Regions from separate parts of the Homo sapiens genome. Here regions 2, 3, 4 and 5 are each linked to region 1. The links are contacts of gene promoters, found by promoter capture Hi-C in blood cells and fetal thymus (Javierre and others, 2016). All regions are on one chromosome and are shown on one strand. The core of a region is centred on a gene start or on the middle of the fragment in contact, and the rest is flanking DNA. Distances in the headings are between cores, read along the strand shown. Region 1 holds the start of NR5A2 (nuclear receptor subfamily 5 group A member 2). Region 2 has its middle 360 kb from the start of NR5A2. Region 3 has its middle 330 kb from the start of NR5A2. Region 4 has its middle 300 kb from the start of NR5A2. Region 5 has its middle 280 kb from the start of NR5A2.

Region 1 (2,550 bases), core at 24-2,523:
TCTTTTTCGTAAGTATAGAACATTTTTGGTAAACATTTCCTCAAGTGATATACTTTAGGGTGTAGTTGGCCCATAAAAAAAGCAATCTGTGACTCCACTGCATTCTGTGGAGTCAGCTGACTAGGAAGGAAAAAAGAGGAAAAACTCAAGCCTTGATTTTCTTTCTTGTTATAATGGAGCTGAGACTCAGAGAGCTCATGACAGGCCCCTGCAAATTCGGAGGGAAATTCCAGTCTGAAAGCCTAGGCAAATGCTGCCAGAAAAGGCACAGGTCCTTCAAAAACTGGGGAAAGGCAGAAGGGCCTGACTTCCAACAGACAAATAATTACAGATCACTGGGAATCACTTCCCTTCAGTCCTTTACTTTTAGAATTAATTGAATGTAGTCTTGCTATAAAATTCATAAGTTTGTAACTCTATTTTTTAAATGAATAGTAGCTTTATTTACTTATTTCTGTTTGTAAAAACAAAATATACTAATTGTTGCGAGAAACAGTAGCTCTTCAAATCCTTTACTAATGATGGTCTAGTTTTTTTGGTTTTTTTTTTTTTTTTTTGGAGGTGGGGGCATGACTTTCATTCCCCAGGAAAATAAAATGAAAATTTTTTACGGTATAAGCAGAGAATAAGACACCATACTTTTGTGTGGGTTGAAAAGTAACAAATACTTGACAGCTATCTGTTAAAGTTTGATCAATGATCACTCAATATGATTAACTTGTTTCAAATTGTTCAAATTTTAGCTTATTATTTCTGATTAAAAATTATCAGAAAATATTAAAGTTGAAATTGATAAAGTATAAATTATATTTTCTGGCTGATTAGGGTATTAGAATGACACCAGTAAACACTAGATATAATGAATAATATTCATATGTTGAAATATCCATTTGCTTTTTTTGAACTGCAAGAAAGATAAATGTGTGATATATATACATAGGCTTATTGTGTGCTTTTAATAAACATAATAGGAAAAGCCATGACTTAAAATGCAAAATCCATCAACAAGATTAAATTATATGTATGTAGTAGCAGAATAAATAGATGATCAATAGAGAAACTCCTACTTACCAATAGGTGTAAGTCCGTGCTTTAAAGACTCTTGTAAATCCCCAGTATCTGAATTAGAAGACATTCTTAGTGAAATTATAGGCAGTTCTTTGGCTTAAAGCAGAAATCATTGAGCAAAAGAAAAGTGCAGCTTGTCAAATTTCGTGGCCTTGGGAAGGACACATCAGACTACAGTAACCCTTAGTGAAAGTTAAGAAAAAGCAAAGGAAAAAAAAAAATCCAGAATTCATAAAGTTACAAGCAAGTCTTTCCCTGGACTCTGTACTTTTTCCAACATTAGTGACCTGCTGTAAACCATGTATCCAGTTTCATGATGGTTTCTAATCAGAAGAATGGAAACTTTTGATAGGCTTTGACTCATCACATGACTCTATGCAGGTTGATAAGAGGACCCTGTTATAAAGTGACAGCAAAAGAGATAAGAATTCTTGCCAGATAATGGCAAAGAAATGATTAACTCAGAAGTGGAGAGGTGCTATGCAGCACAGAGAGTGGAAAGTTGTAAAACTGAGGGGTCAGAAGATCAGACTTAGTGGATAAAAACTGCAAACCAGCTAACTAACTTAGGCTAACTAAACTTTGGCTTGTGACATACCCCTTGATGTCATCACCTCTTTGCATAGAGGAGGACAGACATAGCTCTTCTGACCTCTGTAAATACATTTTAGATGATAACATTGGCAGACATTAATTCTTTAAGTGATGACTACAAATGTGATCGACACTCTGAAATACTACAGGTAGCATTTCCAAGCTTATGGTTATTTATTTATTCATGTTGTGGTCAACCAACTTTTTTATCGGGCCTATTCATTAGATGAGGAGTTAACCTTAGCTTGTTTCTACATTGGTCATATGGCTAAAACACAATCTATCTCTTTATCCCCAAAAGGTAAAACTTATGCTTTGAGATTAATGCTGGCAAAATGGTGAATATGTAACACATTTTTCATAGTTATAAAGTTATTATTCTTAGGCTGGGCATGGTGGCTCACACCTGTAATCCCAGCACTTTGGGAAGCCAAGGCAGGCGGATCACCTGAGGTCAGGAGTTCGAGACCAGCCTGGCCAACATGGTGAAACCTCCATCTCTACTAAAAATGCAAAAATTAGCTGGGTGTGATGGTGCACTCCTGTAATCCCAGCTACTTGGGAGGCTGAGGCGGGAGAATTGCTTGAACCTGGGAGGCAGAGGTTGCAATGAGACGCTGTTGCACTTCTCTCTGCAACCCTGGAAGAACACAATCCAAGATCATGCCACCGCACTCCAGCCTGGGCAACAGAGTGAGACTCTGTCTTCAAAAACAACAATAACAACAAAATAACAATTTTTTTTTTTTGAGATGGGTTCTCGCTCTGTTGCCCAGGCTGGAGTGCAGTGGCACGATCTCGGCTCACTGCAGCTTCTGTCTCCCGGGTTCAAGCAATTCTCCCGCCTCAGCCTCCCCAGTAGCTGGGATTACAGGGGCACACCACCAT
Region 2 (2,550 bases), core at 33-2,532, 360 kb after region 1:
GTATCTCTGAAACTTAGGATAGTGCAATGCACAGAGCAGATATTTAATAAACATGCATTGAAGATAAGAAAAGCAAATCCACATAAGAAATGCCTGGTCATTGAACAAGTTAATACTGATCTAAAAAGTTAATACTGATTATGAAAGTAGATTATCCTACTATAATTTAAGTTCTTTGATTTTTGAAAACAAGAATTTGTTAATCTTTTTTTGCAAAAACATATTAATGCTTTTTAGCTACATCTACTTCTAGGACATGAAAACCCACAGTGATTCCTTGTTGTGCCTGCAACAAGCCCTATGGATGAGCTAAGCTCTCTAGTACACTGTGCTTAGCTGAAAAGGAAGCAGGTGATGAAGAGATTGAGGCATAAGAGGAACATCAATCTCCCCCACCCCCATAGTTAGAAAATCCATTTTTTACACACTGATTTAATTATAGACCAAAGCTTTAATTGTAAGTCTATCTTCAATCAATTTCTTCACCTACTTATTGGTGGCCCGTCATGATGCAGGCTGCAGTACATGGTGGCATGGTAGTTAGGTGGCCTGCCTGAGGATGAGCCTCACTTATTTGTTTTACTATCTGGGTGACTTTGGGCTACTTGTTCAACTATTTTGTCTTATTCTCCTTATCTGTAAAATGAGGACAATGATAATGCCTATATCACCCAGTAGGATTAAGTGAGTTATACTATGCAAAGCATGCCAGTCCTGCTGGGGCGTAGTAAGTGGTATATCTGTGTTTGTCAAATTAAACAATTGCAAACTGAGAATAATTATATTATGCAGCTCTCATGTTTTGAAGGTTGATAAAAGAATTAAAGTATAAATTTCTACATACTTGTCTGATAGCATGATTTTTAGTATATTATTGTTATTATATGTAAAATATAATGCTGGGCTGGCTGTAAGTGATCTAGACAACAGTTCCTGTGCTCAGGGAGACTGTCCTATAGAAAGTGCAGTGTGGTCACTCATGTATTTCTCTTGTCCAAGAGAGACAATGGAAGGGCTTCAGGAAAGTAACAGAACCTGGCCCTTCAGAGATTACCTGGAATCAGATTAAGTAAAGATGTACTATGGGAGGCAGTATTTGGAATGGGTCTTAACAGATAGATTTTGAGGAGAAACCAGGTGGAAAGTATTTCATTTTAGGAGAGTTATACACACAAATATGCATATATTGTGAATTTGATTTTAGAAATAATGAAGAGTTACTAACAGTTGTTTTAGATTTAGGATTATCTTGATTGTATTTAAAATTAGAGAGGGAATTGGGTTATGTATAGGTAGAGATTTATGTAGTTTATACAAGCTGAGTTACCCAGAGCCCAGGATAGGGACTCAAATATTTATTGACTGCCTATAATCATGCCACACTAGTAAATACTGAAATTATAATGATAAATATTATGTATTGTTTTCTTACTAGATAACGAGCAGAGTGTTAGCAAGTTTACGTATATTTTATCATTTTTCCCCATGATAATCTCACAAAGATAGATACCAGTATTGTCTAAATTTTATGACTGAGGAAACCACTGAGCCTTAGAGGGGTTAAGTAACTTGTTCATAGTGACAAAACTAGTAAGTAATGTAACCAGAATTTTCTTACTGGAGGACAAGTTACTATTAATAATTTTAATATGCTGTGTCACAAAAGGCATAAAGCTATAAAGACATTTTAGTTGAGATGATAGCACTGGGCAGAAGGATATGGTGTTGATGCATAGCTTTAAATAATGTCAAAACAGAACAGAAGTTGATATGAAAGATATTTGTTTGGTGGAGAGGATAGATGGGGTAGAGATTGTGGGGGACTAGAGAGGGATTTTCTGGGATGCTGTTGATGTTCTGTTTCTTGATCTGCACATGTCACATGAACATGTTAAATGCTTTTCATTAAGCTGTTCACTTAGGATTAATAACTTTTCTGGATGGATTTTTATACTTCACTTAAAGGGTTTATAAAGAAATACATGTTTGATGTCCAGGTTTGCTAAAGAGGCTCACTAAAATCAGTTAAGAAACATTAAGAAAACTCACAGAAACATACACACACACACAATTTTTGTCTACAACTCCATCTCTGCTTTACCCAGGAGAAGCTTAACTTCGGATCAGGAGATGTGAACAGCAAATCTCTTCAAACTTTTAAAAATGGAAATGATATAACATATCTTCCACAGGGTGAAAGTGTAGATCAAATGAGATTTAATGAGACAACATAGAAATAAGATTCCCGGTGTGCATCCTGCAAATGTCCTTTCGTGAAGATCACAAGAATAGGCTCTTGAATACTAGTAGGTGGAGCATTCATGTTAGAAAATTATTTCAAAATTCCCCTTTAGGATAAAATACATAATTTATGCTTCATCTCCTCCTGTGCCTCTATATTAAATATTCATTGTCTTTGACCCATACGTTGTTATTGCTTTAAAAAATTCAGTAAAATATTATCACCTGGAAGGGCATTGGAGTATAAAATCCAAACAAAACTGGTACCTCTGCACTTGTAGAAAACTATGAAATATAATATAGCACATA
Region 3 (2,550 bases), core at 30-2,529, 330 kb after region 1:
TAGAATTTGATTAGAAAATAGGGAGAAAAGAAATAGACTTGTGGGTTAAATAGATTCTTGCTTACAAGTTTAGAGATTATTTTAATCATAGGGTAGTTTCATGTGAACCGGGTTTTGAAGTTTCAGAAAAAAAGCATTTTCCTGTATTAAACATCATTAAAAGTTTTCTGAAAATGTATTGGTGACTCAAAAGCTTTCCTGATGAGTAAATAACCTTTACCATTTTTTCTCTTTGATAATTTGAAGGTAAATAATTAGGCACATATAAAGTTCTCTTTTAAATAAATTGAATATTTGGATTTAAATATTAGAAGAAAAAGGTCTTCTTAGCAGGTGTTATGCATTTGCTGAAGATCGATCATTCAAGAAAGAGTTCAAGAGATTTGCTGAAGCTGAGATGGTCAGAGGTAGCCATTTTGAGGTATGAGATTACTGAAGATATAACACCCCTGGGAACAGAGGCTCTAATTTAAGTGAAAAACAAACAACATAGAATATGAAACAAAATTGAATCTTGCATTGAATATAATTAGAATTGAATTTATAGTAAAATCCTGCTAAATATTATATGATTAGGGTTTATTGTTTGCAAATGGAAGTTACCTTTACAAAGCTGAATATGTTCTCCCTTTTGCTGGGCAACTTCTGGGTTTCAGTTGTAAGTGAGTATTCAAGGAGACCTGACAGCATGGGATGTAACCTGCCATGACAAACAGCTAATGAGGATTGCCTTCTACGGCACTCGATTTTCTCTAGAATTATTGTTATGCTGTCTATGCTGGAATCAGTGATGCTATTAGTGTCCTATTTCTCTGAGTTGCTGCAGTTGCAGATTAAGTTTTTAAGTTGTAATTAATCTTGATATGTATTTTATGTAAAAAAGTATAGTGATTCAATGTTTGCTTTTCAATCTACTTTTTTTCTATCCCAGTAGGTATTCTAGTATCAAGCATAAGATCTTGATTAAAAAGAACGCTCCAGAAAATGAAAGTATAAATTCTTTAGTGCATTTTAAATCAACAGTTGCATAAAATCTCCACTCAGAAACTTTTGAGACTCTGTGAGTAAAAGAATTTGGTTTGCGTGTAGCTGAAGTGATTGAGGCCTATCCTGTTTTCTAAATTCATGTGTAGATATCCTTTCTAGGCAAAGGAGATAAAATAGGAGTCACCAAAAAGACTCACGTTGTGGTGCTTGCTGATTGGGGGGTCCTTAAAGCTAAGGCATTAAAACAGTTCTGATATAATTGAAATGATATGTATCACCAGCCTTACCTCTCCTTGCTCATGTCTCATTGTTGATCTTAAGAGCCTTTTGAGAATGTGGCTGCTTGTAATGTAAGAGATAGGCATTTCTAATTTTGGAGATTTAAAAAAATACTACTTGGCCAGATCATTATAATGTGAACTTGAAATTGATACTCTTCAACAATCTTTCTACACAGAACCAAATATAACACTTTGAAGGCCAGAGAAAGATTTCACTAGTGACCTTCATCAATACTTGGGAGAATAATTAAAGGAGTAGCTGTTAATAGAAATACTGGTCATTTCTGCATAACACAATATAACAGGCCAACCCAATAAAGAGAAAGAAGCTCAAGAATATCTGCAGATCAGGTCAGAGATGCCAATTTCTTAGTAGGGTCTGTAGAGTTATAAAAGTGACTTGTTTAAATATTTAGGAAAATGAATTAAAGATTCAACAAGAATAAAGACCACCTAGAGAGATTTTATACTACAAATTCATTAGCATAATTTTTATTACCTGTCTGTCAGAGCAGTTCACATCATTGCTATTAGATGATCTTGAACATTTACAGAAAATCGAAGCCTGGGAATTGTTTAATATTCTGGGGATTGAACTAAAGATACCCAGGATACCAAAATATTTGCCACAGTACACGTACATGCCCATAAGTAAGAGATAGACTCTGATTGGACTGTGTTAAGAATTCCATTATATTGTCTCCCAAAGACCTTTATAAAGTGCATTGAGACTTCCATGCATTTTTCAAGATTACAAATTCCTACCAATGATGTTGAAAGCTGTGTTGTAAATGTACTGTGACTTCTCCAAAAAAAATGCTTGCCCTCACTTCCCTAAGTTAATAAGCAAAAAGTCCTTTGAGAAAGGATACAAAGAATCCTTATCGAAAGCATTTGTGCCATTATAAAAGTCTGATTTTAGGAAACTCTCAAAAGACTTCCCAAACTTTTGTCTACTCTTCTGAGGCTCTGTTGGTTTCTGGGGGAAAATTATTATCATTCTCACTGAATTTGGCTCTTGTACCAATTTACTTGAAATGGAAATACTTCCATTTCTTAGTAAAAATACAGAAAATCACCAAATCAAACAAGCTTTCCTCAGAACAATTATATATATATCAATATGCCAATTGTGTTGGTACTGAAGTCTAGTGAACATTAAAGTAAAACTAAGTACAGCTTCAGAATATATTTAAATTTTTTAATAAAAACATAATAATTTAAAATAATTGTAGTCTTACAGGTTTGTAAAAAATAGTACAGAAAGTTTCTGCATAACTTT
Region 4 (2,550 bases), core at 37-2,536, 300 kb after region 1:
AGGAGGTTGCTAGGGTATTAGGCCATTTCCAAATGAGACGTGAGTCAAAATCAGCTTCATTTTTCTCTATAGACTAAATTTAATTTCAAATTTATAAATGCACTCAAATTTCTGAGACTTTGGTTGTGCACTAATTTATATTAACTTACCAGTAGCAGATCCACAGAAAAATCCCAAAGGTCAAGCATCAACCTATAGTGGCAGAATTCTCAACTCCTTCACATAGGCTATGATCCAGAGGAAAGCAGGATTAGCAGGGCTGCCTCTTTACACATGAAAACTTGGTCTGAGATTTCTCTGAGATGACTAATATGAATTAGTTATGTAACCGTTTCAAAGTAGCCTGAAAAAATTAAATTCAGATGAAGTTATTATGCAGGCTTAACAGCCTTCTGAGAGCCCAGGCCGGAGGCTAAGAAAATAAAAGTGGACCTTATTTGTATTTAATCAACAAATGAATTAATTAGCTCCTTAAAAAGCTTTAAAATTGTCATGTTTAACTAGACTTGCTCAGTTAGAATTGGAGAGGCTATTTTGTGAGTGAATTACAGTCAGTATCCTGTGAAAATAGAAGTCCGATATCATACACATGTAGATTTTTTATTCTCTCTTCCTGTTTATCTGTCTGAGCAACTTGCTGCTTTTCATTGTTCAACAAAGGATACATATTCAATAAAGGAGACATTCTGTAGCTAAGTGTGGCTTTTTTCTTTTTTTTCTTTTTGGTTGATCTGTGGCCCCTTTGATAAAGGGCAGAGGGGAGACAGAATAGGAGAGACTCCTCATCGGTGGTATCACAATGCTGGGTGAAAATTCACAAACTCACAGAGGGGGTCTCCAAGAGTCTCTCGGAAATGTGAACGTAATCATTTATTGTCATGGACACAACGTCATTAATGTGTCAATAAGACAGCATTACAATATAGATTATTTTTGTTTTGATTGTGGATTTTGCAGTATAAGTATACAATGATACTCAAAGTAATGAACTTTAAACCATGAAGGTGTTTTTATATAGAACTAAAATGTACATTGTTTAACATATACTTAATGAAATTTATAAATGCCATTGTAATAACTTATAAATTAGTGTAAATTAAACACTATGTGGTGGGAATCACCACAGAATCTTAGAGGCTAACTGGGTTCAAATAGCTCTCATTTTCTTGGAGTCCCAGAGAAGATAAATTTTTGCCTGAGAATGCACAGCTGCTAAAAGGCTTACACCTCCTCTCCTCCAACAAACCACCTCTTGTTGTTCTTTATATGATGTAACATTACCCAAGTTCTGAAGTAAATGTTTTTAATTAGAATATAAGATTCCCCACCCCACTTTGTGTGGGAAGCTGAATTAGATAATTTCTACAATTTTTTCAAAATAAAAAAACGAAATTGTGAAAATTTTACACAGTCACATTGTCACTATGTAGATTTTTCTTCATAATCCAACAACATTTTCCAAATAACCTGTTCTATTTCATCCTCACTTCCACCATGACTGCCACTCAGGTATATTTTGTGTGTACTTTTTTGGGTAAAATTTTTATATTACTCTTCCACAACAGGGGCTACTTTGACCTCAAATACCTTTTTATGATCTGAGGTGTGAACTTGTCTGTCTCCATCTTACAAATCTTCTCCTAGGAGCCTCTGCCCACAAATGAGAAGTTTTTGAGCAGATCCCAGGTTTTCTCTTTCTTTTTTCCCTACCTTGATCTACGGATTCATTGAGCTCTAGGGCATTCGAAAGAGAAGGAAAGCTGCGTGATAAAATATGAAGGTGAAGCTGAGAGTTACAATGCAGACTCTGCTGTAGGAGAAGCAAGACCCTTGTCCGGATGGCCCCTGGAGCGGCGAGTTAGCATGAAGAAGCAAACTGGGGAATAACGGGGAAAGGGAGGGGTTAAGATTTGCTTCATAAAAGGATTTAGGGAGCCTCTCTTTATGATTTTGCTCCTCTAGTTCCCTAAAAGAAGCAATGCTTGTCTACTTTGCTTTCTGAAGTCAGAAAGGAATGCTTGATTTCTCAGCAGAACTATGGTTTGTTTTTCCTCTCTAAATACTGGCACCGTTTTAAAAGAAAGCAAAGCTTTTTATTTCACAGAATTAAAAGTCTTAACACATCTAGAAGAGTTTAACATCTTAGTATAAAGGGATACGTGTGGGAAAGTAAATACAGGTATCAGATTTGTCCTAGTTTTGATAGGGGCAAGGCTCTGGGAACAGAGAGGCACAGCTCTTCTGCAGTGAGAGGAGAAGGTACCATTCTGGGAAGCGTGGAGCAGGAATAAGACAAGGCCATCAAAGACCGATTCCCTTATTTTATGATTTGCTTGGAGCTGTTGTAACTATCTTCATCTGAGTACAGACAAAGCTGTGTGCAAAGGTTTTACAGCTCTTGACCTTACTCAATATCCACACCTAGGTGAGAATCATGAAGCATTTTGTAACACCCTTAGCATTTTGCCATCTTTCAAAATGCACCTTTGAGTCTTTTACTTTATTTTCTCAAAACGTAATCTTCCCCAGCTCTACCCAGCACATTTAAAT
Region 5 (2,550 bases), core at 38-2,537, 280 kb after region 1:
TTCTAAAAATTAAGATGTTATATCAATTGTAAAAGTCAAGATGTGAAAAATTTCAGACTAAATAACACCGGGCCACTTATAGTCATGCCGTTGTGAGAGGTGCTTGGTCAGTTACTTCCTCAATTTCAGCTTGGCCTCCTTTGGGCAAAGCAGCAACCAGGTAAGCAGCACTTGCAGGAAAACTACTCTTGAAGTACTGTTTGTAGATTTCATTGACAGTAGGGAAGTCATTTATGTCAGCCAACAAAACAGTTGTTTTTACTGCATTAGTGAAGTCACAGCCTGCAGCTTTCAGAATTTTACTCATGTTCTTGCTTAGCTTCTTTTGCTAAACAAGCCCTCTTGGCACAAGCTGTCCACTTAAAGGGTTCATGCTTATCTGTCCTGAAATGTAAGTTTGTCCTGACTAACACAGCTTGACTGTAGGGCCCAATGGCCGCTGGGGCTTTCGTGGTGCTGATCGCCTTTCTGATTAAGGATGACCTGGCTAACCCTTCTCTCTTGTGGCCCCTCCAGGAGAACTCCCTGTACAATTCCTGCTTGCTTCTTGCCTGACTGACCTATTCACTGTTCTGAAAAGATTGTAGTGGCTCTGCTTGCAAGATGTGCAGAAACATGAGAGACCCTCCAACAGTGGACAGAGAGGAGATAGTCATATTTATACTGAAATATTTATGTGAACTACAAAGTATATTGAACTCAGGCAAATCTCAGTTTTGACTAGTGATTTACATCAGTGATACTGGTTCCCAGTATCAGTTTCTGCAGTCTTGTGAAAGAGCATGAACTCCGTATTACCTGGTGGACTGACCCAGTGCCATGTGAGCAATGTGGATCATGAGCAATGTGTGGATCAGGATTCACTTTTCCACTCTATGTCTCACTGTCTGTGTCACTTGGACTGATTGCATAGATTCTCTAAATCTGTTTCTTATAAACTGGGAGTAATAAAACCTGTCTGATGGAGTTATTGGAAGATTAAATAAATAACATTTATAAAATACTTAGCATAAAGTCTAGATACAATAAGCATTCAATAAAGGGTAGATAGTTTTGTTTACTATCATAGGTGTCATAGACTCTGCTTTTAAATTTAATCCTTATAACAACACTGTAATATGATCTTCATTTTATAAATTAGGAAATGGAGACTCAGAGATTTGTCTGAGGTTACCGGCTAATAGGAAGTAGAGCCACAATTCTAACACAGTTCAGTCAGTGTCAAAGTTCACATCATGTACTACCCAGTAGACTTTAGGGGTGAATCTCTCTACTTCCCAGTCGAATTTCCTCATTTAGAATCCACCTCTGCGAGTGCGATGGCTCATGCTTGTAATCCCAGCACTCTGGGAGGCCAAGGAGGGCAGATTGCTTGAACTCAGGAGTTTGAGACCAGCTTGGGCAACATGGAGTAACCCCATCTCTACAAAAAATACAAAAATTAGCCAGGCTTGGTGGTGTGCGTCTGTAGTCCCAGCTACTTGGGAGGCTGAAGTGGGAGGATCTCCTGAGCCCAGGGAGATGGAGGCTGAAGTGAGCCGATAGTGCCACTGCACTCCAGCCTGGGTGACGAGAGTGAGACCCCCATCCCAAAACAACAACAACAAACAGACAAAACCCCCAAATCTGCCTTTGCCATTTATTATCTGTTTGATTTTGAATAAAATCCTTTATATAAAAAATGGGGATAATAACAGCACCTACCAGGTAAGGTGGTTATCAGGATGAAATGAAATAATATCTGCATAATGCCTGACAAATAGTAATAAAAACACATTTATTGATATTATTATTAGTTTTTATTACTATTATTGTGACAGTAACACGGAGGCAAGCAACATTACTTATTCCAGATGACCATTCACCTTCCCAGAAACCTGGGCTGCAGTGTTTATAGCCTTCTGTGATGTAAATTTCCTATAAGCTATATATTACAATAGTTTTGAGGATCAATAAAGACATTGATTATAAAGTATGGTGAATGCTTCATACATAACCTTAGATTTGATTACAGGAAAGAGGAAAACATAATGTTACATTAGTATAAAGATAAATTTGCTTTTCTATTTTCTTTTCCATTCCCCTAATAATTTTGGTAAAATATACAGCAGTGCATATTGACCCCAAAAATGAATAAAACATCACTTAATTTACTTTAGCTCATACATTGGTTGTATGGGTTAACTCACCTTACATACATTTTATACAGTACTTAACATATATTTTAGAGAAAACATTAGCAATATGACTTTTCATTAATGCTTAGTAAATATTTGCCAATGCACTATATAATTTTAATTTTGATAAAAATAGCATTGTGGACAAGTCAATGGGACCAAAAATACCATCTTCATGATTCTTTAGCTTCTAAAGACAAATTGCTACATTTAAAGGTTATGCCAAATTTGAAAAGCAACATAGGATAGTGGGAAAGACCACGGATTCTACAGCCAGCATTCCTGGGTTTGAATCCCAGCTTTGGTACTTAACTACTTGTGTGAACATGGGCAAGCCCCTTAAGCTATTGGAGGCTCATCTCCTTATCCAGAA

What was found. Contacts are between HindIII fragments. The CHiCAGO score rates a contact against its expected background, and 5 or more counts as called.
Region 2: a fragment that was not itself captured here is called in contact with the fragment with the promoter of NR5A2 in region 1 in 1 of 17 cell types (M1 macrophages); the score reaches 5.1 in M1 macrophages.
Region 3: a contact is called between a fragment that was not itself captured here and the fragment with the promoter of NR5A2 in region 1, in 9 of 17 cell types (monocytes, M2 macrophages, M0 macrophages and 6 more). The highest score is 10.0, in monocytes.
Region 4: a fragment that was not itself captured here is called in contact with the fragment with the promoter of NR5A2 in region 1 in 1 of 17 cell types (endothelial precursors); the score reaches 5.2 in endothelial precursors.
Region 5: a contact is called between a fragment that was not itself captured here and the fragment with the promoter of NR5A2 in region 1, in 1 of 17 cell types (M1 macrophages). The highest score is 5.2, in M1 macrophages.

The regions. Positions count from the first base shown.
Region 1 is chr1:200,026,433-200,028,982 of GRCh38, reverse strand. NR5A2 (nuclear receptor subfamily 5 group A member 2) reads right to left here and starts at 1,273. Exons shown (of 8, transcript NM_205860.3): 1 at 1,072-1,273. The coding sequence starts at 1,135. The HindIII fragment of the contact is 3,447 bases long and covers 1-1,827 here.
Region 2 is chr1:199,662,274-199,664,823 of GRCh38, reverse strand. No RefSeq gene overlaps it. Among named protein-coding and RNA genes, the nearest start is that of NR5A2, 360 kb to the left of the region's middle. The HindIII fragment of the contact is 1,662 bases long and covers 452-2,113 here.
Region 3 is chr1:199,701,426-199,703,975 of GRCh38, reverse strand. No RefSeq gene overlaps it. Among named protein-coding and RNA genes, the nearest start is that of NR5A2, 330 kb to the left of the region's middle. The HindIII fragment of the contact is 2,167 bases long and covers 196-2,362 here.
Region 4 is chr1:199,721,501-199,724,050 of GRCh38, reverse strand. No RefSeq gene overlaps it. Among named protein-coding and RNA genes, the nearest start is that of NR5A2, 300 kb to the left of the region's middle. The HindIII fragment of the contact is 1,610 bases long and covers 482-2,091 here.
Region 5 is chr1:199,750,423-199,752,972 of GRCh38, reverse strand. It overlaps the pseudogene RIDAP1. Among named protein-coding and RNA genes, the nearest start is that of NR5A2, 280 kb to the left of the region's middle. The HindIII fragment of the contact is 3,745 bases long and covers 1-2,550 here.